7 separate regions of the Homo sapiens genome follow, and all the other regions are linked to region 4. Evidence: promoter capture Hi-C in human tissues and cell types (Jung and others, 2019). All regions are on one chromosome and are shown on one strand. The core of a region is centred on a gene start or on the middle of the fragment in contact, and the rest is flanking DNA. Distances in the headings are between cores, read along the strand shown.

What was found. The method cuts DNA at HindIII sites, captures the fragments that hold promoters and counts their contacts. A contact is called where the count stands out against the background at its distance.
Region 1: a contact is called between a fragment that was not itself captured here and the fragment with the promoter of ADAMTS1 in region 4, in 1 of the 25 tissues and cell types used here (dorsolateral prefrontal cortex).
Region 2: a contact is called between a fragment that was not itself captured here and the fragment with the promoter of ADAMTS1 in region 4, in 1 of the 25 tissues and cell types used here (hippocampus).
Region 3: a fragment that was not itself captured here is called in contact with the fragment with the promoter of ADAMTS1 in region 4 in 2 of the 25 tissues and cell types used here (dorsolateral prefrontal cortex and lymphoblastoid cells).
Region 5: a contact is called between a fragment that was not itself captured here and the fragment with the promoter of ADAMTS1 in region 4, in 5 of the 25 tissues and cell types used here (IMR-90 fibroblasts, dorsolateral prefrontal cortex, mesendoderm cells and 2 more).
Region 6: a contact is called between a fragment that was not itself captured here and the fragment with the promoter of ADAMTS1 in region 4, in 3 of the 25 tissues and cell types used here (dorsolateral prefrontal cortex, mesenchymal stem cells and spleen).
Region 7: a contact is called between a fragment that was not itself captured here and the fragment with the promoter of ADAMTS1 in region 4, in 2 of the 25 tissues and cell types used here (H1 embryonic stem cells and dorsolateral prefrontal cortex).

Annotation. Positions count from the first base shown.
Region 1 is chr21:28,210,700-28,214,374 of GRCh38, forward strand. It overlaps LINC01695 (long intergenic non-protein coding RNA 1695), which reads right to left. Exons shown (of 6, transcript NR_126012.1): 3 at 1,541-1,649. Among named protein-coding and RNA genes, the nearest start is that of LINC01695, 16 kb to the right of the region's middle. The HindIII fragment of the contact is 3,011 bases long and covers 815-3,675 here.
Region 2 is chr21:28,453,158-28,456,834 of GRCh38, forward strand. No RefSeq gene overlaps it. Among named protein-coding and RNA genes, the nearest start is that of LINC00161, 84 kb to the right of the region's middle. The HindIII fragment of the contact is 5,820 bases long and covers 1-3,677 here.
Region 3 is chr21:28,613,667-28,617,485 of GRCh38, forward strand. It overlaps a transcript of HEMK2 not described here. Among named protein-coding and RNA genes, the nearest start is that of LINC00161, 76 kb to the left of the region's middle. The HindIII fragment of the contact is 4,494 bases long and covers 1-3,819 here.
Region 4 is chr21:26,842,967-26,846,823 of GRCh38, forward strand. It overlaps ADAMTS1 (ADAM metallopeptidase with thrombospondin type 1 motif 1), which reads right to left and starts at 2,443. Exons shown (of 9, transcript NM_006988.5): 1 at 1,259-2,443. The coding sequence starts at 1,988. RefSeq lists enhancers at 1-189, 2,627-3,227, 3,228-3,827. The HindIII fragment of the contact is 5,494 bases long and covers 1-3,453 here.
Region 5 is chr21:28,576,645-28,580,262 of GRCh38, forward strand. It overlaps a transcript of HEMK2 not described here. Among named protein-coding and RNA genes, the nearest start is that of LINC00161, 39 kb to the left of the region's middle. The HindIII fragment of the contact is 4,643 bases long and covers 1-3,618 here.
Region 6 is chr21:28,429,124-28,432,522 of GRCh38, forward strand. No RefSeq gene overlaps it. Among named protein-coding and RNA genes, the nearest start is that of LINC00161, 110 kb to the right of the region's middle. The HindIII fragment of the contact is 3,705 bases long and covers 76-3,399 here.
Region 7 is chr21:28,294,794-28,298,586 of GRCh38, forward strand. No RefSeq gene overlaps it. Among named protein-coding and RNA genes, the nearest start is that of LINC01695, 68 kb to the left of the region's middle. The HindIII fragment of the contact is 7,138 bases long and covers 1-3,793 here.

The DNA of each region.
Region 1 (3,675 bases), core at 1,070-3,569, 1.4 Mb after region 4:
AATAAAAAAAAATCATGCAGGTGAAAGAAAGGCAGATAAATAAGACACAAGAAATGATTGTGTCTATCATGAAGAAGTAGTGATCTGTGTCAGGAGAAAAACACACCATTCCCATACTTTATTTTGCCCACAAAGTGAATTTGACACACTTAAATGTGTCAAATGTGCATTTGACTATAGTGCAAATGCACTATAAATGTGCATTTGACACACTTAGTTTGACTACATATAATGGATTAGATAAAAAGAGGTAGTTTTCTAAGTACAAAGTAGAAACCATGATTTCTTTAAACTGGGTATAAATTGGAAAAAAAAATACTCAACAGAGTGTTGTGGTGTATCATTAATATTTTAGGAAATTTCTAATATTAAACTATTTCTAGTTTTAAGAAGTTTAGACACAGAAAAACAATACATATTTATATAATATCTTTTCAAAGTATTTCATCAATATTTTAATCTCGTTAACTTTTCTCCCACTTTCTTAAGAATCAAAATTCCTTTTTAACTTTAATTCGAGTTCATGGGTACATGTGCAGGTTGGTTATATACGTAAACTTGTTATGTATGTAAACTTGTGTCACGGGGGGTTGTTGAACAGATTATTTCAACTGTTGGTACTAAGCCTAGTACCAACAGTTATTTTTCTTGATCCTCTCTCCCTCCTCCTACCCTCCACCTTCTGATAGGACCCAGTGTGTGTTGCTCCCATCTATGTGTCCATGTGTTCTTAGGATTTAGCTCCCACTTATAAATGAGAACATGTGGTATTTGGTTTTCTGTTCCTGCATTAGTTTGCTAATGATAATGACCTCCAGCTCCATCTATGTCCCTGCAAAGGACACCATCTCATTACTTTTATGGCTACATGGTATTCCATGGTATATATATGTAGCACTTTTTTTTATTTAGTCTATCATTGATGGGCATTTAGGTTGATTAGAATCAAAACTCTTAACTAACATTACTCATTTCTCTCTTTGAGGTTAGCATTTCAAAAGGTTTTGGCCAATTTTCTTTTCAAAATAATAATGTTTGTCTATAAGTTCCTCAAGCCCTCTAACATCTTTTTAAATCTATAAATGCCTTTCAGTGTATTTTCATGCCTTTTCTAATGAGATTCAGACTTTGAAAAAAGATTCCTGTTGGTATCAAAACAAACCTAAATAAAAGTATTCTCTTTCATTATTTTATGATGATTCTAAAATTATATCTATTTTACTTACCATCATTTTGCTTGATAATGCCCAGCTGATTTGATTATCATTTCTTGTCACAGGTAGAACTCTGAGGGCATAACCATATTTTATGCTCATTCCTCATTTTAAGTTGGTTATTTTCATCAAGCACTATGAGTTTAATCACTCTGAAGTAAGGTAATAGATGAGTTTACTGAAAACACAATTCATTTCCTAATTTTGCTGGCCAAACGATACTACTCCATGTTCATAAACATGAAACTCTTCAAGGGATCTGCTTCAAGGGGAGGCAAGATGAATGTGCTCTTGGGAGTAGGACATTTAGAGATACGGTAAATTACCTTGTCTAGGCACTGGCCAAGTGGTGCTGTGGAAAATCTCCAGGACATCTCAGCTGCATGAGCTAATTTGTCTCCCATGGACTTGTCTCTCAATGGCTTGGCTGTGGGCCTACTAAAGGAAAAAAGAAATTGTGTTTTTTACCTTCTCTAAAAATTGCACATTATTTGCACTTTTGAAATCTCATTTTGTTTCCATTCAGTGGTTATCAAAATTATTAACAAAAGCCAGATGACAATATTAATCATATTAAAGACTGTGTTTAATTTATATTTATAATGCTCATATAATGTCATAATGTTCTATGACTATACTACATAGGCCTCCTACAGATGATCAAATCTTTAGGTGAAATGTTTATTTTTTGTTTGTTTATGAACTGTCAATAGCCATCCATGTGCTGTTAAAGATAAAGGTTTTGCAGCCCGGCTCAGTGGCTCACGCCTATAATCCCAGCACTTTGGGAGGCTGAGGCGGGCAGATCACGAGGTCAAGAGTTCAAGACCAGCCTGGCCAACATGGTGAAACCCCATCTCTACTAAGAATACAAAAATTAGCTGGGCATGGTGGCAGGCGCCTGTAATCCCAGCTACTCGGGAGGCTGAGGCAGGAGAATCTCTTGAACCTGAGAGGCGGAGGTTGCAGTAAGCCATGATCGCACCATTGCACTCCAGTCTAGGCAACAAGAGCAAAACTCTGTCTCAGAAAAAAAAAAGAAAAAGAAAAAGATAAAGTTTTTTATAATATAGGTTGTTATAAAGAAAACAAAGAAGAATTATAGAAATATCTTTCTTATTTTGACTTCATAAAAGACAGCTTACTATATGTAACTCACTAGAGTTGTTAGACATCCCTAACAAGAAAGCTTGAGTAAGTCACTTAGTTATTTTAGAGTAGGTATGATTATTTAAATAATTTAAAGTTTCCTGTTGTTTTAAAGAAAAGATTTGTATCGTATTTTTTTAGAAAATGACTTTTCATGTAAGAAGGTCAATAATATGGCACACTTAAGGTAATATTCTCTATCATTTATTTTTTCATTTGACTTCTATGCTATTTAAAAATACAAAAAATAATAGTTTTGTATATGAGCATTTAGAAATGCTTTGGGATGATTCAAAATTTCCAAATCTTTCTACAAGTCAGGACTTTCAAAAGATATGAAGTAAGTACAGAAGTTTACATCATTCATGCATCTGACATTGAATCAGATACTAATCAGAACCCTGGCTGAGCTGTCCTATAGCTAAGGGTTCAGCTGTTATGCATTAAATCAATTCTAAACGCACTTTTTCCAACTTCTTCCCATCCAAATCTATTTAATTTGTCGTGTGTCCTTCATTATATAAGAGAGATTTTCTGAACAAATTCTCTGGCTTGAGAGAATCTGTTCAACATATTTACACTAACGTGTTAGTGATTGGAAAAAAAAGCCAATGAGATTCAACCAATTAAATGAAAGAATTGAAACCTCAGCTACTGACTCAAATTATTTTTGAATCGAGGGAATTTGCAGGATGAGCTTCCTGATGTCCTAGAATTGCTATAAGTTAATTACCCACCTGTAAATAAGAATATCTTCTTCAGGTATATAATAATGAAAGTAAAAAAAATAGAATTTTTCTTTGGTGCATATTTCCCTCTTACTGTTCCCTGGGAAAAGTTACTATATTCCAGGACCAGATTGTTTTACTTTGCTGTCTTTTCTAGCTCTAGAGTGATTTCAAATATTGGGTGTTCCTTCAAAGGAACAGAAATAGTACCAATTCACAATGCCATGCATTTGAGATATAAATTAATCAGCAGGAATTCATCACATTGTAATCTAGAAGGATAGGGCAAATCGTAGCTCATAATTATCTAGAATTCCAGAAGAAATAGGACAGAAATAGGAAGCAAGAAGACAAAAAGCAGTCTTGGTTCTCGTATCACTAAAGAGTTTCAATGGCACGTGATCTCAAATGAAACCTGGTGGCCATTGCTCATGTGTTGTGTTCCACAGTAACTAGAGGGGTGCACATTTGGTCTGGAGCAATCTTCATAGAAGAGGGGACTAAAGCCCTAGAAAGCACGAGTTCAACTGGCTGCAGCCTGCAAATCAAAAGCATTCATTGAGAAAACATTAAGAACCCATGTA
Region 2 (3,677 bases), core at 471-2,970, 1.6 Mb after region 4:
GATGTATTATATTCCAGGCACTATGCTACATGCTTTACAAAACTAATCTTGATTAAGGTTCATAACAATTAAGTAGGTAGTTGTACCCCCTCTTCCTCATTTAGTTATTGTTACCTTCATCATCATATTTTGTATTTTGGGAAATGGATACACACAAGGAATGAAAGAACAGATTCACAAGAACCATTTAAGAACCTATTGCTGCAGAGTAGGAAGAACTGAATTTCCAGACTATGCCATCAGTGATTGGAATAAAAAAGAATGAATGGATTCATGATTCATTTCAAAGGTAGAACTGAAAGAGGTTGGATGCAACCAACTTATTTTTAAAGTTCAAGAGAATTGTTGAATACGAGGCCAAAGCTTTAACTATGGAAAACAAGTAGCAAATTCCTGCCCCGAGATGGGTCAACAGAAGGTGGAAAGTGGGGTTTGGGAGGCATCCAAAAATATAAAAAAAATAACCTGTAAAATGGGGAGCCAAGATTTGCACTGCTCAGTTTGAGGTAGAACAGGTAGCTGGAAAAGGAGAATGGGAGCTTTGCAGGGAGAGATGGCCAAGGACGTAAGTTTAGATGACTTTTACTTTGAGGTAAAAGTTGGAGTCCTAGGAGTGATTAAAATGGTAAAAAGAGAAGGAGGCAAATTAAATCAAGTACTGATAGTTGTGGATCAAAAAGGATCCATACCGTTCATCTGTAAGTCCAATCTATCTTGCTTTCTGCTCAAACATTAACAATGCCAAGAGCCCTGGAATCTAAAGTACATATTGCTTTTCTGATTTTTTGCTCCAAAGAGATCAAGAAGAGCAACCACTATCTGAGAACTGCTCCTTTTCCAAGGCCTTTCCTGATAGAAACATTTCTAAGCCCTGTGCTCTCTATGGACCCTTCAGAGATCCATAGGCTCATGTCATTCTATGATCATACCCACGGACCTGATTCTCTTAACTATTTATCAGACTAAATGTCAGATCAGGTGGGGACTTGAGATGTGGGTGTTTTAATGTTGTTGAGGTAAATAAAATAGTGACCTCCCACTGAAGGGCACTGGGCCTTACAGCTTGGTATCGTTAAATGTGTTCAGTCTGATTTGTTGAAATGTTCCATCCCTGCTTTGTCATAAAAGAAGAAATTATATATTTAAAAGGGAATACAGCAAATGTTTAAAACATGTTGCCTTTTCTTCACCATCTGTCTTTTATTTATTAAATTCTGTCCACTTAAAATTATCCTCTCCCCAAACTGCAACTGTCAAAATCCCATCTTTCAACCTCTCATATCATCTCATCTCAAAACCCCATTAGAAAATTGTTCCCATTCTTCTTAAAGGGAATGAGTTGTCAATCACTCTATGCCCTGGGCATTTATATCTGCTAAAGCCTTTGCTGTGTTCTCCTATATTTTAGGGATGAGTGCATGTGTTTGTGCTTTTGTGTGTGTTTGTGTGTGTGTGTGTGTGCATGTGTGTGTATACATGTGATTGGAGTTTGTGATTGGAGTTGCTGAATGAAGTTGCTGAAAGAGACATATGGCCATGTAAGTAATAACAAGCAGAAGGGCTCTATGAAAACACAAGGCAGAAATCATTCACCATTTCATGTTGAAAATAACACTTTCAGCAGAAAAATCCTCATTTGAAAATAGCAACGGTATAATTAGCCTTCAACTTTACTTCCTTATTAGTGATGCAGTTCTCCATTCCACACAATGCAACACATTGTAATAAATGGATGTTCATATAATGGATTGGAAGAGCATAGAATCCAAACATCTGGATTCTTCCACACATGGCGCATTAGCTGTTTCTGCAAAAGCCAATAGGAATTCCATGTTGATGCAATTAAATGTGACTGGAATAATACATGCTTCTCACATTTTTAGTTATACATATGTATATGTTTGGCATACAATTCATTATAGTCACAGAAATTTTAAAAAAAGAAAAGCTTTCTACAGCCATGTCTGTTAACAATTATTGTGCTACTTCCTGGAAGCAGGGAAAAAGTGAGTAGTCCTGGGCTGCTGGCCACTTCACCACATTGCCATAGTGAGAGAATGCCTAGTCCATAAATAAATTTAGTCCAGTATTAGGACTTCAAGCCTGCTCTTTATGATGGCAAAAATATGCTTCAATTTGAAATTGCCCAGAATTGAGTAAAACGAGGGTTTTATCCAACATTTCTTAATTTGCAAGAACACAAAATAGGTGAATACTTGTAATTCTTTCTCTCGTCACTCTCATTCTAAACAGGCTTGCAAATGGTGTGGCCTACACTGAGTCAGAATGAGAACACAGCTCATTAGTTTCACAGCACTGGGAGAGCCAGCCTGGAATAAAATCCAATAGCAAGGGAATCGAGGAAGAAGCTGATTTTCACGCTTTCACTTTCATTCTCTCATTTCCAATTTTGCCCTTTATATGCTAAAGATACAGTAATCTATGCCCAAGTTGGAATGAGATTTCCTTCTTACGTTTCTGTGCACATGAGAGCCTCAGAAAGGGAGGGCATCCTCTCATTGCTCTTTTATAACTTTTACAAAGGGAGAAGATTCACTTAACCTTCCTTTATTTGATTATCTATTATAGAAAAATATTGAGTTACATAATCTCTATATTGTCTATTACCCGAAATCTCTCACTTTCATTCCAAACTAAGTAAATACGAAGCAAAAAAGTGGTATGCCGTTACTAATTTAGGTTGCCCAAACTGTCCCACAGGGAAACAAATAAGTATGTTGTCATTGATCAGATTTTCTGCATACAGACACTGAGATCTGTGCACAGGAGGTTTCTCAGCATGTCTTCTCAGGAATATTGCTTGTAAGGGAGTGAAGAAGTAAGACTTTTCCAAAGGAAAAGTTGAAATGTAGTAGAGTTCAATCAAAGGCTCCAGCCCATCCCACAGAGAGTCTGTAGAACTCTGAATCTGTGGTGACCCTCTAAAGATGTCCCAAACTGAGACAAAGGGGGCCAGGTGTTTATATACCCAACAGACTAGACACTGGACACTTGAGGGAGTGTTCTTCCATCAAGGGCAATTTCTACAGGGGAACACAGCTAGGATCCAACAGCAGCCAACATATTCAGGGTTGGAGAACGAGCACCTTGACTCTGAAGGCATTAATCTGGGTGACACACAATAGTATCCACTACAGTTCACTCTAATATACGATGCTTGGTTCTACTTGATTCTTGTAAATAAGCTCTCTCAATCTAGAAACATCCTCTTTGGGATCCTAGTTGGTCTCATTTTCGAATGCAATTTGTTAGAGGAATTTTGGTCCTCTCCACTAGGGCTAGTCTCAGGGCTGCAAATGATACTCAACAGTGCCCACCTTTACTCCCCATTCTATATTCCATACATTCTCAGCTTGCACCTCTTTTGGTCTAGGTTGTCTACCTGTTGGGGGGACCCAAATACTCATCTTTGAGGGGTCTGAGGTCTTAGCCACCATGCAATTCTTGGGTCACAGTTGCAAAATTTTTGTTTATTACCATCCTATCACAACAGGGAAGGGGAGTACTAAGCAACACACTAGTAGGTCAGTGGTGCCAAACATGTTCCTCCCTGCCCCAAGTGTGGTACAGCTACCTTTTCTACCCCTAATATTTGGGGTCAACTACCCTGCCACGATGTAGTCATTTCTTCCTACTCATCCTTTGATATAAGGAGC
Region 3 (3,819 bases), core at 961-3,460, 1.8 Mb after region 4:
ACCTATCTAACAATATAATTAATTCACTAAAAAGAGTCAGGCCAAGTCATTTAGCTTAATGTGTCACATTTCCAAGATAGCATTTGTATTAAATAAAGACCTTAAGTGTTTTAAAAGAAAAAAAAAGAAATGGAGTTAAACATGTAAGAAATGTCCTCAAATCTAAGTTGCAGTACTCCTACACTGATGAAGCTTGCTGACTAGGACTTACATTTCCATTGTAAAGCATCATTATAAAAGTGCACTTTCTTCAGGGAAAAAGATACCCATGACTTTCTCCCCACGGTTCAAGTGCAGTGCTATGTTTTCTTCACTGTGGGAATATTTTCTAGAAGCAGCAACAAACCAATGCCTGTCTCTTGCATACATATTATGAGGCCCTATTGCAGCAATGCATGTCAATTTGAATAAAGTTTATAATTCCTTTCCCTCTCTTTTCCTCCCCCATCTCCATCCAGGAATTGAATTTACAATCATGGTGCAATATACAAAACTTTCTAACCATGGTAGGTAATTGAGTGAGAAAAGATGAATTACATATAGTTTACAAAATTAGAACTACCTAAGATGTCTATTCTTTTCTGTGAACATATATATCCTTTACACTAGACTGATATTCTTATAATCTGGTGGGTTTTTTTTTAAGTTTCTATGGTACGGCTTTTAAATTTTTCTTCAACTCTTCACTATGGAGCATAATGTTAGTTAGGATTACTTTTGATAATTCACTCTACTGGTTTTCATACATTAAAAAAAAAACATATTGAAACCTGTCCATCAGACATTTTGCAATTTAACAAAACTTTGAAATAAAAAGCTTTCCAGAAGTTTTCAGAGTGAAAAATATGATCAAATAGTGTAAGCCAAAGCCAAGATTTCAACTTGAGACTTCGCCATTTTCTTGGGCTCTACGGCTATTAAGAAAAACATGGTAGGCAATTTGTAAAACTAAATGACATTTTTTGGAAGAAAAAGTCCTTATATAAATTAGATTACAGTGACATTTTGCTGACATATGAACCACTAGAATATGGAATTTAATAGATGACATCTGATTCAAATCCTATCCAAGAAGTGTGTTACCGGAAGTAGCACAAACGCCTCCACATGGCATATGGCACAGGCTCACCTAGAGAATTCGCTAACACAGCAGCCTCTAAGGACAGCACAAAAGTGGTTCTCTTTTTGAGTTTCAAAACCCTTCAGAGCATTGAGTGATATTTTTCAATCTTGTAAGCATTGCTTTTTCAGTGAGGCCTTTTCCCACTCTATATAAAATTCCATAACCCCTTCCTAATCTCTGAACGTTTCTCTGGAATGCATGGTTCAGAATGCCTCTTCTTGTCTACAGGGACAGAATTTCTTAACTGCAAAGTAGGAATGTCCCAGCATGGTGAGATACAAGGGTGATATGGGTGGCTTCTCCCTTTCCTCATTTATTAATAAAACTGACTCTTATTTGTCTGCAAATAAGGGAAGAATTTAATTTCCCACTGCATTCAAATGATTCTTAGAAAGATCTGTAGTTCATGACCCTGAATGAAGCAGGAAGACGCAGGGAGTAAGATGCTGGAAGGAAGAAAGGAATAAGAAAGAAATACATTCTTCGGGGTTTTACTAGGGTCGTCTCTCTCTTTCCCATTTCCTTTCCTCCCTCCTTCCCCTTTTCCCCCTCCTCCTCTTCCTTCTCTTCCTTCTTCTTTTCCTCTCTCTGTCTCTCTGTCTCTGTCGCTGTCTCTCTCTCTCTCTCTCTTCCCCACAAACCCCCACCTCCGAGAATGATAATGAGATTAGACCACAGGACCAGCAGAGAGGAATGTTGAGTCACAGAGCTGGAGTCATAAGCACACCAGCATGAGGACCAAAAAGTCAGGAATGAACTGAGCTTTCAGATTCTGCTCATTACAATAAATTCTTGCCAAAAAAATAAAAATAAAAAGTGTAGATTTTATTTCCCTTCTGGTTATTTCAAAACCAGGAGGAGGGGCACTTTTCTTTGGTCCCTTGTTTAAATCTTGTACTGGAAAACCCAAAGTGAAATCACTAGAACTACAGTCCATATGGTATGGAATGCCATGTTTGTCTGCCTTCCACAAGGCTAGAATTTTATTTGTTAATGCATTATAATTAGGTTCAAAATGGAAAGGCTTAACGATTGCTTTCATATTTTTAATGCTAGATGTTATACAGGAACTAGTGCAGTGATCTCCAGAGTGGGGTAGATAAATCACAGGAAGTCTAAGATAGCCCACTGAGGTATGAAAACAAGTCAAAAGTTATGCTGATTTTTATAACAAGAAGAAAAAAATAATCATAACTAATATTTAAAGTACAAATAATGGCATCTTCACTAGGTCCATATATCAAGTGCCACTCATCATGTTTAGTACATGGGGTCTCCAGAGGGAACATTTTGTAATAAACAGGGGTTGACAGTGGAAGCTTCAGTCACTGATCACTTTCAGCTTGCAGATCAAATTGTCTAGACATAATTTCTCTAATCCTCAAAAAGTAGCTTTAAAAGATTTTTCAAGGCTGAAGATAGTGCTAATAATATAAGCAACAAGGAAATGTAGAACTAACTCTTCTGCTTTGGGGAGAGGTTCTTCGCTAATCACATCATGAGATTTTGAAAAACAATGGCAATTTTCATCAGATATGACAAGACTTGCCATTGAAACAATAAAAAAATTATTGGAAATATGGACTTATATCCAGCAGTATTGAGAATGAACCGTGCCTAAAATGTATGAGCTAAAGATAATTTTTAAAAATTAGTCTTGTTTGAAAAGTTATGAATTTTTATGTAAAGTCTTATTCTAATAAAATATTAGATTTTTAAGAAACTGTAGTTTTTTTAAATTCTATTACCTGCAAAATTCTCTCTAAAACTTCCCTGACACATGAAAAATTCCTGTGCTGAAATGCTAGCCTACGCCATTGTAGGAAAGCTCAAAATTATCAGAAAATTCTTCTTTTAACAAGTTGGATACTGTGTTCTTGTAATTTGTTTTTCTATTTCCTAGTCATTTAAATATTTTCCAGATTGAATATTGCCAGTTCCTACCCTACAAGTACCATTTGTATACCCTTTGCTATTCTAGTTTCTCATTTGTGGATGGATTCCAGTTTCTCTCTCTCCAACTCAAAAAACTCAACACATCACTCAGGATTGGATCTAACCATCGTGGCAGGCAATCAAATAATTGTCATTCTTGCTCAGTTACTTCACCAATATTAAATAAGAAACCATCAGGTACCAAGCACTTTTTAAGGCACTGAGGCACAGTGATACAAAGTATATAAAGTCTTGCTATGATAGAGCTTAGGCTCCAGTGAGCTGGCCACAGACAATTAGTTGGTAAGGGAAAAAAATAAATAAATAAACAAGAAAAATAAGACTTAGACATAGAAGCCAGACAGTGAAGTACAACAAGGCAATAGGTCAGAGAGCGACTTGGTGGCTAATTTGAATTGGGTGGTCTGGAATAGCCTTGCTGAGGAAGGTTACATGTATATGAAGATCTAGAAGAACCTTCCACACAGAGGCACAGCCAATGCCAAGGCCCTAAGATGGGAAGCAGTTTAGCATTGAGAAACTGAAGCACATCTGGCAGGGCTGGAGTAGAGGGAGGCAGGGAGAACAGTGCAAAATGAGACTGGAGATGCAAACAAGGACCAAATAATGAAAGACCTTGCATGACATGCTAAGATTATGTTATTTTGTGCTGATTTCATACTGAAGTCCCTTAATGGTGTCAGTATCAAATCTCTCACTGCTTCCCTTTCACACCTCATAAGTACTTACTGCTAATCAGC
Region 4 (3,857 bases), core at 1,193-3,692:
GGCAATTTCGCACATAATCCTACCCAATTGTAGTAAAATCTTGGAGCAAGAGCGGCAGGCAGAGGCCCTGAGTCACTCTTTCACAGGCGAGGGCTCAAATCCTGAATGAGATCATCAGGCTCCACGTGGAAGGCCTCGGGTAGGGCCTGGGCTGCTGCCAAGGGGCCGGGCCTTAAGGAATCTCAGACTGCACAGCTCTGCTGTCTCATTCCAGGGGTCCCTGGGGTGCTCCGCTCTTGCCAATTCCGGGCACAAGGACCACCCACTCTGCCCAGCAGCCTCTGGCCCCACTCCCACTGCCCCAGCGAAATAAGTTCCAGCTTCCAGGCATGATTGATTATTTGGAACAGAGCCTTCCACTCCGGACTGAGACCCAACCCCTGCAGAAAGTCCTAAACTGGGCTGCGACCACTTTGCTCCCAGGAGCAGAGGAGCAGGGGAAAAGGGGAGAATTCTTTAAAAAATGACACGCGAGAGAGTTAAAGAAGGAAAAAGGCACCAAAGTGATGAAACAAAAAGAACTGGAGAATAAGCACTGCACAGAGAGAAGGCCGTAGCAGGAAGGACCGGCAGTGACTTTCAACAGTGCTTGAGAGCAGAATTATGGCCGCGAGAGGGAGTGCAAACTGGGAGGCGGGGCAAACCCGGGAAAGACCTCCCAAGCAGGTTCTGCGAAGGGGCCCCACCGCCTTCAGCCCGCCTGGGTCAGCCTTATAAGGGGGAAAGGGGACAGAAGTCTGCAGAACAGAGATCCTAGCGTAGCCGCTCAGGGTACCTTCCCAGGTCACCATTGCTCCTCTGCCCTCTCCACATCCGCCCTCCCGTGAGCGCAGGATGCACGCACAGGCAGCGGTTACAAAACTCAGCGCAACGTTGCAACCCGCACAAAAGGCGCACACAAAATCATTAAAAAGAAATACACAGAGTGGAAAGAACTCGCACAAGCTCCAACTCGCTAAAGGTGGAAGGAGTCAGGTTACAAACTCTCCCTCCCCGGCCTAAATGCTTTGCTTTAGTTTGCAGAAAATCGTTTGTCAGTTTTTTTCTTGGTTATTCATTATTCGGGCAAATGCAAGTATGTTTTCTAGCTGAGTTCACCAATCCAAACCTCAAACCACATTCCTCCACTCCAGGCCTCCGTTCTGTCCGCGGACTTATGATCCTGCCTGCCAGCAGGAGTCTACCCTGAAGTCGCGTGGGATAGATAAAGTGAGGAGAGGAGGATGAATGGACAGACAAACGAGAGCAATTCTTCTACCTGTGGGCTGTCCTACGCCTTGCAGTGCCGGGTCCTGCGGCGACCACTGAGCCCCTTCGTCCTCGCCCTCAGTCCCTTCGTCCTCGTCTTCGGTCTCCGCTTTCCCAGTCGGCCGGGGCTCGTCGTCCACGACCCCGCACGTGCCGCCGACGTCGCCCTGCCGATTCCGCCGCAGGAGGTGGAACTGTAGTGGTGCCGGCGGCTTCTCCCCTGGGGCGGCGGTGGCGAGGCGCTCGCTGGCGGCGGGCAGCGGCTGGATGAAATACGCCTCCCCCAGCAGGTAGAAGGCGCCGCGCACGCCCTCGCAGAGGCTGAGGGCGGCAGCCGAGCTGGGATCGCCATTCACGGTGCCGGAGTAGAAGCAGTGCGCCAGGTCGGTTTCCGGAAGCGGCGTCTCGGACCCGGATTTGCGCCCCACGTTCTGGAGCGTGAAGCCGGGCGCCAAAAAGCTGCTGTCGGGCCGCAGCTCCAGATCCAGCTGCTGGTCAAAGGCGTGCAGGCGGAGGCGCGTGGTCCCGTGTCCCGGGGCGCGCTCCAGCTCCGGCACCACTAGCTCCTCGTCCTCCTCGGAGGGGCGCCCGAGTGCGTCCGACACGGCCAGTAGCGCCGCGGCGAGCAGCAGCAGCGTGGGTACTGGCCCAAAGCTCCGAGACCCCGGAGCCCGCTCCGCGTTCCCCATGTCGCTGCCCAGCTTGCGCCTTCCGAACCCCTCGGGCACAGCTCGCTGCATTGGAGCCCCAGGAGACACCGCTCGTAGCAGCGCACGGAGCGAGGGACCTTTAGTTCGGGTCGGGAGAGCAAAGCCTCGTTGGCCTGCTCTGGATTGTTAAAATTAACAATTTCTATTATTCGTTGGAAGGGCGCGCAGAGCCGGCTACAGCCGAAGCTCCCGGAGTCACTAAAAGGAGGCGCTGCAGTTCTGCCGGCGCGCGGGAAGTTTTTCTTCCAGCGCAAAGTTGGAGACACTGAGAGGCAGGCGCAGGCAGAGTGGCTCTGCTGGGACAAGAAGCGCTCTGGGGCGCCTCCGGGGCTGAGGCAACGCGGAGATTGGTGCCTGGCGCCCCTCTTCGGCCTCCGCCTTGGCTGCGATGTTGCTCACTCTGCTCAGGGCTCTCCCCTCTCCGTCCGGTAGCGCACCCTGGCTTTGCAATAGCCCCTGGCTCGGAGCCGCTTTCCAGCGAGTGCAAGAACCGGGCAGCCGAGCGGTCCTTTTATAGTGGACCAGTGAAACCCCCACCCCCACCCCACTCCTCCCCTTTGGCCCTTTTCCATCCCAAAGACGCCGCCCCCGGCTCCGTTGGTGCTAAACCGCGCTCCGCGCTGCGGGCTCGGGAGGGGGAGGGGGCAGCCTCCGCGCTGGCTCCACGCCACTGCTCGTCAATCTAGGGGCGGAAGGGGCGCTGTGACCAGCACTTTGTACTGCTGGGGCCGCTCCAGGGAGAAGACTCTCCCTTCCACCGCTTTTCTCCCTCGCCGGTTTCCTGGACCACCCTTCCTCCCCACCGCCCGGTTGCGGTAACTCAGTTACCGCGCTGGGCTGCGGTTCCCAGGAGGGAGGGTTCGGTTGGAGAACGCAGTCCCTTCTTCAACATTTCCCTATCCTGGAGCTGCCCTGGGTCTCCTTCCCTCCTCCCTCAGTTCCCTCTTCCCCAATCTAGGAGATGAGCTAGGGCTACACTTTCTAGAAAAATACCTCACCCCACTTCTCCACCTTCCCAGCCTGCCAGGAGCTCCTTAGCCGCCGCCTGCTCTCTCTTCGCCCCAGCTTTTCTAGGGAAAGCTTGGCCCTGCGCTTCCCCCAGAAAGCATGCCTGGGTGAGGGGCCAGGTGACACTTCCTACGATCTGGATTTTAAAATATGTTTGCTTATGCCTTCACCCTCCACCAACCCCCACCCCGCACGCCACCTCTTCACCAGAGACGACTTTGTGAGGGCCCGGTTTCACATTTCTGGAATGGGTGATCTGGGACGCGGCTCAATTCCCTAGAGCATAAGGAGGGAATTGCGCTTTTTCTTCTTCATTCGAGAAATGATCGGCTCCCGCCAGTCTGCGTGCTTTCACTCAACAGCAGCTGCAAGCCCTAGGCCAGCGTCGCAGAAACGGCCAGGAACCCCACTTTCCTACCCGGGGGCCAGCAGCGATCGCTGGGGCTAGCAAGCGTGCAGAGGGGGAAAGAAGGAAATCGGCTTCCTTCCCGGACCCCTCCTTCCTCTTCCTACCAGGAAGGGAAAAGGCTATATCCGCGTTACGAAAGCGAGGAGAGGTCCACCAACAGGTCCTTAGGAAAAAAAACTGAGTGGCTCTTCTCTCCAAAAAGTGGGAGGGGCTCAAGGACCCAGAGGAAGGACGTGTTTCACAGGCGGAAAGCCGCGGGGACAATGGCGAGAGCGACCGCCCTAGCCCCGGGCGGACCCGCAACCCTCACACTCGCGCGCCCCCGCGTTAGTGCTCGAACTGGTCTCCGCCTTTCCGCCCCACTCCCGTCCGGTCTCTTGGTTGGCTCCAAGTAGATCTGGGTCCTTTCCTCGCTCCTCCCCAGATCTTCCCCACTTCAGTTGGCCCCAGCCAGAAGCGTCCCTTCTAGTTCTCCCACACGT
Region 5 (3,618 bases), core at 497-2,996, 1.7 Mb after region 4:
ATGAAGATGCACTCTAATGTTTTTTCCCAGAAGCTCTGTAGGTTTAGCTTTTACCTTTCTGGGTTTGTTTTGTTTTGTTTTTTGAGATGGAGTCCCACTCGTGTCACCCAGGCTGGAGTACAATGGTGCAATCTCGGTTCACTGCAACCTCCACCTCCCGGGTTCAAGCAATTCCCCTGTCTCCACCTCTCGAGTAGCTGGGATGGGAGGCGCCTGCCACCATACCTGGCTAATTTTCATATTTTTAGTAAAGATAGGGTTTCACCATGTTAGCCAGGCTGGTCTCGAACTCCTGACCTCAAGTGATCCACCCGCCTCAGCTTCCCAAAGTGCTGGGATTACAGGCGTGAGCCACTGCGCCCAGCCCTAGCTTTTTGGTCTATGATTCCTCCCAAATTAATTTCTGTGAACCATTACCTTAAGATGTTGAGATTTAATGTCCAGAATCTCATTTGTTCACCTTTGAAAATTAAGAAACCCTGGCACAGTGTTGACTGGAGCCACTTACCTTAATAGAAAATAAAGCTCACATATATCCATAATGAAAAGCAGAGACCAGCACAACCATAGTCACCTGACAGTTTTAAAATCCAAGGCCAGGATCTTCTCAACTCAGGCCCACTCACTTACTCCACAACATACTTCTTCTTTCCTCAGCATCTACTACTTGTGCTGGGACCTTGGTCTTCCCATTGTTCATGTCATTCTTTTCCTCACAGTTCCCATTCTTTTCTCCCTGAAATAAAGAAATTTCAAAATATACCATGTTTCATGAAAAAGACAAAAACATAAAATTACCTTCAGGAAGATGTATTTTGATATAAGTTTTCTTTATCCATAAGAAATTAATAGATTTGCAATAAGCATTGATATTCTGGGAAATGAAACACCCTTGTTTTGCCCACCTAACAACTTTTTATTTCCAAAACCCAAGACCCATCCTCAACAATTTACTTTACTTAACAACATATCTAGGGTTGCCAGATAAAATGCAGGTTTCCCAGCTACATTTGAATTTCAGCTAAGCAATAAATAATTTTTAGTATCTATCCTAAATATTGACCTTATATTTTTTAAAAAAGTGATTTATCTGAAATTCAAATGTAACTGTACATCATGTAGTTTTATTTGATAAATCTGACACCCCTACCCACATCCAATTCATCATTAAACCCTCTAAATCCTACTTCCTCAATATTACCCAAGTCAGTCCATTTATTTCTATTTCTAGTACCCTTACTTTTGAAGAAGACACCACATTTATATCGATTGTTTTAATGATCTTTTAATTGGCTCCCAAACTCCAGTCAAAACAACCTTTACTCTCTGTTAAAGCTAAAACAATTTTTTCAAAACAAATCTGATTGTATCACACCCCTTCCATTGTTTCCATTAATTTAAGATCAAGTCTAAACTCCTAAACTCAGCTGTCATTGCTATATCCTATCTCTAAACAATCACTGTTTTGCACTCTGCATACACTCCAGCCATTTTGAAAAATCTTTCAGGCTCCTGGAAAAGCTTAACTCCGCCCTTTGTTTCCAATATTTACATATAAATTTTTTTCTATCTAAAGCATGCTTTCAGCCAATAACATAAATCTCACTACCCCTTTCTGCTGAACCTAAATCTTTTTGCCCTCAGATAGAAAGATAATTTTCCCTTCTCCTGCTCTGCTCTGATTCAGCTCTCCATAACAAGGTTGTAATCACCTCCTATTCACCCTTCTGGTGAAGGAAGGATTTCCACCCTCAGGTGATGGGGATGGTTGAACATCCAACACCTGAAACAGGACAGACGATATTGACAGTACTTGTTAGTTGCATATAATCACAGACCAGTGGAAACAGATGAACCACACAGGGCCACAGCGGGGTTTCACTGGGGAACAGAGTGAACAATCAGGAGGTGTGGGAGGCAGGTTTAGTAGTTTAAAGAGGTTGAGGTGTCCCCCTGGATCCCATGGGAGGATCACATTGGCTCATTTGAATTATCATACGGACTGGCAGGGAACTGAAATCTTCTACTCAGGGATAAGCAGAAACTGTCCCTGGTTTCCTTGATAAAAAGGGTTGTTTGATAGGGGACCTTATCCATGGGAGGAAAGTGAGGAGGGAAATTTGTGGCTAAGCCATTCAAGGCCCTCCCAGTTTTACTAGATGTCAAGGCAGCACACGTAATATTGGGACTTAATTTTAGCCACATAACTAATAAATTTGTAAGTATGTGCAACGGCTCACACTTGCTTCCAGAATGGCACCTAAAAAACAGATTTACCTCTCCCCAAATTCAGATATGGAATTAAATGTAATGTCAGGAAAATTGTCTAAGAGTTGGAAATGGGAAAAAAATGTTCTTTTGGTGGAGTTATGGACTCCAGAGGTTATCAGATTCTATTGAATAACGTACTTTTGATTGTATTTGTAACAATTAGGCTATTTGTGAACTCGGTAGGGGTAGAAATCGAGTTGTAGAAAATGGATGGTAATGCAAGTGATTTTTGACCATATCAATGCAAATGAATTCTGTTGGTAGAAATATTCATTTCCACACTGTAGATGACCCTAAACATATGTCATTACATTATATTTTATTGCCTTATAGACTATTAACCAATTTTGAATCATACAGTAGCAAATTTATTTCAGCATTCTTGTGTGTATGTGTTTATATATACACGTGCATATGTATTTAAGATATATAATTGTATATTCTTCAAATTCTTCTTTGAACAGGTTTGAACCTCTTATTAGTTTCCTCATTAAGGAATTTAATAAGACCTTTAATGCATGTTTGTATTTTCATGAGAGTCATTATTTTACCTTTCTGGAAGTTATACTTCAGCAACCATGCTTTAAATAAACCATGATTTAAAATAGCTGTCTTAGAAAAAGAAAATAAAAGTATACTTAAATGTAGATGTCTATTTTTTAATGTTTTTATTAATTTGTAAATTTAAATAATATATATTTAAGAGAGCTAAGTAAACATATCATAATACAAATAGAATGGAATAAGAATGACCCATGTCAAGGCAGTGTGGCAATTTTTACCTATTCAAAATTGTGCATATTTGTTAGTCTGATTTAACACCAAGAGCATTAGCCTGGATCCAATTCCTTGCTCAGCAATGTTGAAAAATATTACCCTTGGGGCATGCAAAGGGCCCCAGTTTTGCTTTCCTATATATTCAAAGTTTGACTGCTCACTCTGGTGACTGAACTTTCTGTGAAAAAGCTTAATTCCCAAGTTCTCCTCATCGTGTAAGCAGCTTACATCATGACTAAAAATTTCAAGCATCAATTTGACTGACAAAGCATAAAAGAAGAGAGGCAGTGAGTTTTCTGGTGCAAACAGATGTCAGATCACAATTCTGAATCTCTAAGAGATCATTAAGAAATCTGACAGTAGGCAAAAAGTGAGATTTTCTTGTCAAAAGTGAACACCATCAATTTCTGAATATAGTTGATAGGTGACTCGGCTTCTACCACTTTGTACACTTCTTACGTAACTGAGCTGGTGGGAAGCAGTGTCTGTAGGCAGCAGGTGGGCAAAGATCCTCTAAGAGAAGCAAGCCATTCTCCCCCTCCAGCACAAATGAAAGAAAGAACCTAGAAA
Region 6 (3,399 bases), core at 678-3,177, 1.6 Mb after region 4:
AAGCAAACTACCTTGGGGATGACTATTTTCTTATTCCTAGTAAAAGACCCATTTTTGGGAAATCACAACAGTCAACAGAGAAGCAGGAGAAACAAAAGTCTTCATTTCCCTCAAAAACACTTTCCTTGACGTAAAAGGAGCTTCGTTTGTTCTCTTACTGCAGTCACAGCAGGATGAAACCATATCATAATTCTTAATTCCAGGAAATTTAGGACAAATTATGAGCAAGCTATTCTTTTAAAACAGCTGCTATTTTTAGTGTCTTTATAATTATTTAACTTCCTGGAAAGAATAACATATACAACTCTTCATCTTCCAGGCTCCAATGTTTGGGCTTTTTAAAAATGTTTAAGTAAATGTTAGAGTAGTTTTAATAAAAACATGCCAAATTCACCTTCTTCTACCCACAGTGTTTATAGGTTCTTCTGTATCACTATATTACCTAAAAAAAATGGTCCTGAAGGAAAGAAAAAGTGAAAGTGGGGGCTTTGAAAATTATATATTACAATAACTTTATATTTTGGTAATCATATCTTTTTTTGAGACGGAGTCTCGCTCTGTTGCCTAGCCTGGAGTGCAGTGGCGCAATCTCGGCTCACTACAACCTCTGCCTCCTGGGTTCAAGCGATTCTCCTCCCTCAGCCTCCTGAGTAGCTGAGACTACAGGCGTGTGCCACCATGCCCAGCTAATTTTTGTATTTTTAGTAGAGACAGGGTTTCACTATGTTGGCCAGGCTGGTCTTGAACTCCTGACTTCATGACCCACCTGCCTCGGCCTCCCAAAGTGCTGGGATTACAGGCGTGAGCCACAACACCCGGCCCAATAATCGTATTTTAAATAGTGATATTGTAGTTCAACCTGCTGGATTATGTTATTTCAACTCTATCCTTTCTTAGAACAGAGTAGCTAATACATACATTCAAGGACTCTTAGAGAATTTATACCACCTAGACATCGTGCAAGTGAGAGAACTGAATTCAGCCCGAGAATCTTCAACAACTTACCTATGATACCATAGGGAGAAAGTGAAAATGGCTGATGAGGGAAATATTTTCAGGTGACTATTTTGTTCAGAGAAGCAGAATAAAATTTCTCACCTGTATGGACCCAGATTTACACCCTGAAGCAAAGTAGAAACTTTTAACTGTGCCCAGCCTTTCAGCTTGTAGCCAGGGATAGATGGAAGGCTTTGCACTCACTCCCAACAAGAAAAGAATCCAGGGGAAAAAATCCAGTTCCGCCCCAGGCAGGCAGAGTGATGGTCCTGAGCAGAGCAGGCAAATTTTTTCTGTAAAAAGACAGACAGAAAAAATTTTTAGTGTCTAGGGACAAGAAACAAATTATACTATATACTTTTAAAATAAGTGAGAAAACAAATTCTCAGAATGTTTTCGTTGATGAAATTCAAAATACAATGATAAGTGAGTACTTTTTTTGTAATATAGGTCTACCAATGAGAAAAGCTGAATTCTTTATAGGGTGGATAATGTGTCACCTAATGAGATTCAAAGGTAAAAACTGTCTCTGGTGTGTGAGCCATACAAAAACAGTGAGCTGTATTCGACCCATAGGACATTGGGTACCCACCCTGGCATTCAGTGTGGCTCTATGTGGTACTACCTAAATGTCCTCCCATCCGGTAAAGAAAAACCTGGGCTAAATTTCTTAAGACAGGTGGGGTAAGATGTAATGTTTCTCAAGGAGAAAAACTCTCATTATTTTAAAGCCTGTAGCAAATACAGCAGTTGTACCACTGAAAAAGGCCACGGCGCAGCAAATTGAAAATGGTGCTAATGAGAACAGCAGGAAGACCTTAAGAATCATGACAGGAATGGTGTTCATGATCAAGGGGCTCTAGAGGAATTAGGCCTTGGTCCAGCCTTTAGGTAAATATCCATATTTGCTTTATGTAAATATCCATAAAGCAAAAACTTCCAAAATTGTTCTCAGGCTATGAAGTGTGTGCTTAAATTATCTTACTCCAAGGCAACATGCCCTGGTGGAGGAAGGTCACATATTCACATCTGTATAATCTTTTTGTTGCTTCTTAAACTCTGAGTCTTTAACACCGAAATTCTTTTGCCTCTCCCAAAGCTTGGTCATTCCGTTCTAATTCATCAGAGGTGATCAGTTTTCTAAGAGAGAAAGAATGAGATACAAGTGAGGAATTTTCAAGCTTTTGGAGATAAAGGAGGAATGACAGTGTGTAGTTTGATGCAAAAGGGAACACATAGAAGGAATATTCACTTACCAGATACACACTTGCTGAATAGATGTTCTAGAACTCTTGGGTCATGCCACTAATGGACATGTTACTGATGAGGTTCAAGAAGTTTCAAGAGCCCTGTGGAGATCTAAAATTGTAGGCCCTAAAAAAGTGGCTAAATTAAAATACAGGAGGAGTCTAGAGATAAATTTTGCTTCTAGAAGGAATTGCGTCCATGGCTGGAGCTTGTCAGCCAATGTAACTCACACCATCTTCGTGAGTAGTGTTAGCTTTGAGGACCTTTGTGATCACTGAGTAATTGCAGAACTTCATGTTCACTCAGGACAGTGATTGCTGGATTTAGAATGTGTGCAGCTTCCAATGACTAACTCTGTGCATCACTTTCTCTGACTCCATAATCCCAGTAGGCCCTTCTCCCATGAGAAACTAGGGAAGCTTTATCAAGAATGAAGACTATGAGATATTAAGCCACTTGCAAGCTAACATATTAGCCCCCACAGCTTCAACGTGATGGGCTGAAGACACTGGACTCCTAGATCAAAGAGAAAAGACTTTATTACTGAAGGCACAATGAGCATCCTTATCTTCATATTTTCCCAGGTGGATACAGCACACACAATGGGTTTGCATCATAGATGAGCAACCCCTTGCTGGCAAAACCCCAGTTTTTAATAGAGGTGCAGAAAAGAAACCCAACGTTTGCCCCAGATGAAGACATTGTATTTATTAGACTGCAAAGTAGACAAACACCTTTTCCTTCAGAGAGAGAAATCATCTCTATCTTCAAAAGCTGTTTGCTCTACCAACATCCTCGAAAAGACAGAGTGATCATCACCAATGCCTTTATTTGCAAGACATACATGGAGAATTGCCTCCCAATATGCCCAGACTTGCTTAAATTCATTCATGTCACATTCCCTATTGAGCTTCCAGATAATAAATGAATTACATCAACCTAATTCTTCTCTTTCCCTTCCCTGCCCAGTACACTAACATTTATTGGTTAGGCAGTGAGCAACTAATTATTTTTTTTATTTATTTTTTTTTGAGACGGAGTCTCGCTCTGTCGCCCAGGCTGGAGTGCAGTGACGGGATCTCGGCTCACTGCAAGCTCCGCCTCCCAGGTTCACGCCATTCTCCTGCCTCAGCCTCCCAAGTAGCTGGGACTACA
Region 7 (3,793 bases), core at 299-2,798, 1.5 Mb after region 4:
AGACCAGTTGGTAACAAATTCAGAGGTTACCACAGCCACCTTGGGTTCAAAATTTCACTAGAAAGACTTACAGAACTCACTGAAAATAATTGTACTCACAATTGCATTAATCAGAGGTCTAGGATACAAATTAAGACCAGCCAAAGGAAGAAGCACATAGACCAACTCCACAGCAACCCCATGGGATTGGGGAATGGGCAGCAAGAAAAAAACAATATAAACCTGGACTTAATTCTGCCTACTGGCTAGTGACTAGTAACTAAAGTCTAGTAAAGACTAGTAAACTCTGCCTTCTTCCAGCATCCAGGCAACTGTGGCAAGCTAACTTATGATTGGTTAAAATTTCAAATCCTTCATAGCTCCTGACACTAGTTACTGCCAGTAAAGTGGTAAGCTCATGAACTGATAACTCTAAATATTTTGTACATATATTTGTTTATATGCATATGTATTTTATGCACTTTTATTTTCTCACTTCTAATTCATTTCTTATCAGATTTTCTGCTCACCACCACTCTAATAAAATAACTCTTTCAAAGGTCTCCAATGGCTTCCAAATTGCCAAATCTAGCAATCTATGTTCAGTCTCATCCTGCTTGACCTTGCCAAGTTATTAGTATGTTCTCCATTTCTGTAAGACCAACCCTTACTCTTCTCCTTCTTCTCAGCCTACTCAATATGAAGGCAAAGAGGACAAAGATCTTTGGGATAATCACTTCCAATTAATGAATAGTAAATATATGTAACATACAAAATATGTGGTAATTGCCTATGTTATTGGTAAGGCTTCCAGTCAACAGGAGGCTATTAGTTAAGTTTTAGGGGAGTCGAAAGTTATGTGTGGGTTTTTGACTGTGAGGAGGTGCTGCTAACCTCACCTTACTCAAGGATCAACTGAATTTATCCCAGAATCCCCTTCCGTACGTGGTCTGGATTTGAGTTAGATAAAAGAGAAGCTTTCTTGAGTGAAGAGGGCATTTATTTTGGAAGACTGTGGTGGGAGGCCAGGGTGAGAGGAAGTCCCAGGGTGTTCACTGGGCTCTAGTTTCAGCTCATCTTTCTACTGTTTTCATCAACCAACAGCAGCCCCAAGCCAACCACCAAGCTCTAGCAAGGTGACAGCTTCAACAGACCTCTCTTCAAGCACTGCCTTATTTAAGTCCCAATTCAGCGGCCAAGGATGCACATCTTCTGGAACTTTTCTGCAATCTCTGACCTGGCCATCCAGAACAGGCTGTCACGGTTAGTGACTTTTGCTGAATATCACTTTCCTGTTCCCGATCTTCACATGCCCAGTTCTTTCCACATGATTGTAATCTTTAATTTCCATAAAAAATTTCTTCTACTTATAATATTTCTTGTGCTTTTTTTTAGACTGAATGCTAAGGGATAGATGTGTGAAATTTCAATTATTGTTTTTAGCAAATAAACCAAAACTTCATATTCTATGGCTAAAAGTGTGGTGTTCCTCTTACACGTGATGAAAGGCAGGGACTGACTCAAAATATGTATGCCTTTCAAAACTCTAAAAATAAAGCATGTCATCAGGCTGTGACAGGGATAAACATATAATGAGCACATATAGAATCCCAAGAGTTACCTTCACTGGTCACATATGTAGCCTTCTGCTATCGACTGAATTGTGCCCCACTCTAATTAATGTGTTGAAGCCCAAACCCAGTATGACTGTACAAAGAGACACTGTCTTTAGAAGGCAATGGAAGTTTATTTAGGTCATAAGTGTGGGGTCCTAATCTAATAGGACTGCGGAGATTTATAAGAAGGAAAAGATCTCTCTCTCTCTTTATCTCTCTCTCTCTCTTCCTCTCTCTCTCAAGCAGTATCCTCATGTATAAAATAATTCTTACAGAGGACTAGGTTTCTTTCTGGGAACCCCTTCAACTCTTTTCTGCCCCAATCGCTCATAACATCCCACTTTATACACTTCATAGTCCTCACACTCATCTGAGCCTCCAACCCAATCACCTCCCAGAGTCTATTCTACCTTGTGCAGCTATAACATCCTAATTTTCAACTTCCACTCTTTTTTTACTGATTTAATACTGCGGAATAAATCCTATATGAAAATATGTACTTACCACTGATCTTCCATGTAAAACTCTGAAACCCTAGTAGTTGACAATTTAGAAATTCTGAATACTTGTGCTCAATTTATATCATAAATTCTAGATTATTATTGACATTAAATAAGCAGACAATATCACAGGACACTTCATCATCTGACCTTGCTTGTCTTTCTCTAACTACATTTCTCCCAGCTCCACTTCTCTGGTCAAAAAGAATCATGCTTTCCTTTCTTTCAAACATGCTTTACATACGCTATTTTCACTGTCTGGAATTCACTCCTGCTGCATTTCCCATGTCTTACTTATCCTTGAGGTCTAAAGTTAACTAAAGCATTTTCCAAAGGATTCCTTGACCTTGAAAGATTGAGTCTTGTTCTTCCTTTACTTTCTGACTTACTATGGATAACCTCTCTAAGTAGACTCTCTACTTTTTAACAGCACATTATTTTCTTGTTTACTAGTGCCCTTTCCAATTTATTTGTTTATTATTTATAGCATATTAGAGAAATAGCCTATAAACATTAAGAGAGTAGGGGCCATATATGTCTTATTCACTCTTTTTTGGAATTCAGTTTCTGACACAATGAAGGTACATCTTAAGTTGACTAAATGAATGACAAAATACAGTATGAATGAAGAATTGATTAAATCATTAATAACTATGGTATCAATTTCCCTCCACATTACCTTGAAATCAGCCTTTATTAGTCAATCTTGCACACTGGAAAGCTGGAAGGCAGATGCTGTATCTAGCCAATTATTTTATCACCAATTCCAACAGGAACTCATACTCATAGATACTGTGCTGCTGTTAGAATAGCTGTCCATTATCTCTCAAATCATTTATTTTCTCAACTCTTTGTCTTGCCCTCTTTGTTCTCATTTTTTCTTCCACAATTGACTAGTTTTCATTCATCATGGATTAGTCAACCGCATCTTTCCCATAAAACCTACACTCAAAGTAGAGTGACTTTTCCCTAAATTCCTATTTTTCCCAGCTTTGACACTTGACAATACTCTGTCTTTCAACCTTTTGGGAAGCTATTGTCTTGCATTGTCATCAACTTTTAAACACGTGCATAACTTGTTATCTCAATTAAATTGTAATTTTTAAAGGAAAGGCATATAGCATATGACTACCTCTTTTATATTCTTAACAATGTTGAGAATAGTGCAATAAATGAAATAAACATCTTCACTGAATGAATGAATAAACATATCACTTATGGAATCACATTTTTATATTTAATCTTCCAGGAAAATAATTACTTTATTTGACCTTGCCAAAACTTCTTGAAAACAACATATGTAACTTTAAGCCATATTTTTCAATAAATAACATCTTCATTACTCTGAGTGAATTGTAAGAATTGACTCAATTACCAAGATGACCAAGCCAGCTTCAAGGATGTGACCAATACACTGTGAGAATTTGACTCATTGTATACTGGGCTTTTCACTTGGCTGTTTAACAGGAGAAAACAGGAAAGAAGCACACAGTCAAGTGTGCTTGCAGTGGAGAAATTGGTGTTCAGTGTTCTGGACAGGCTTTAAGTCCTCTGGGTTATATCCAAGCAACACAGCCTCAGAGCTAGATCACAGAATCAAGACACCAGAATTCTACTTCTGTGTCCAACATTTAGTGCAATCAGATGGAATGCAACATTGAAATATGAAATGTAATGTTTTAGTTAAATCAGTGTTCA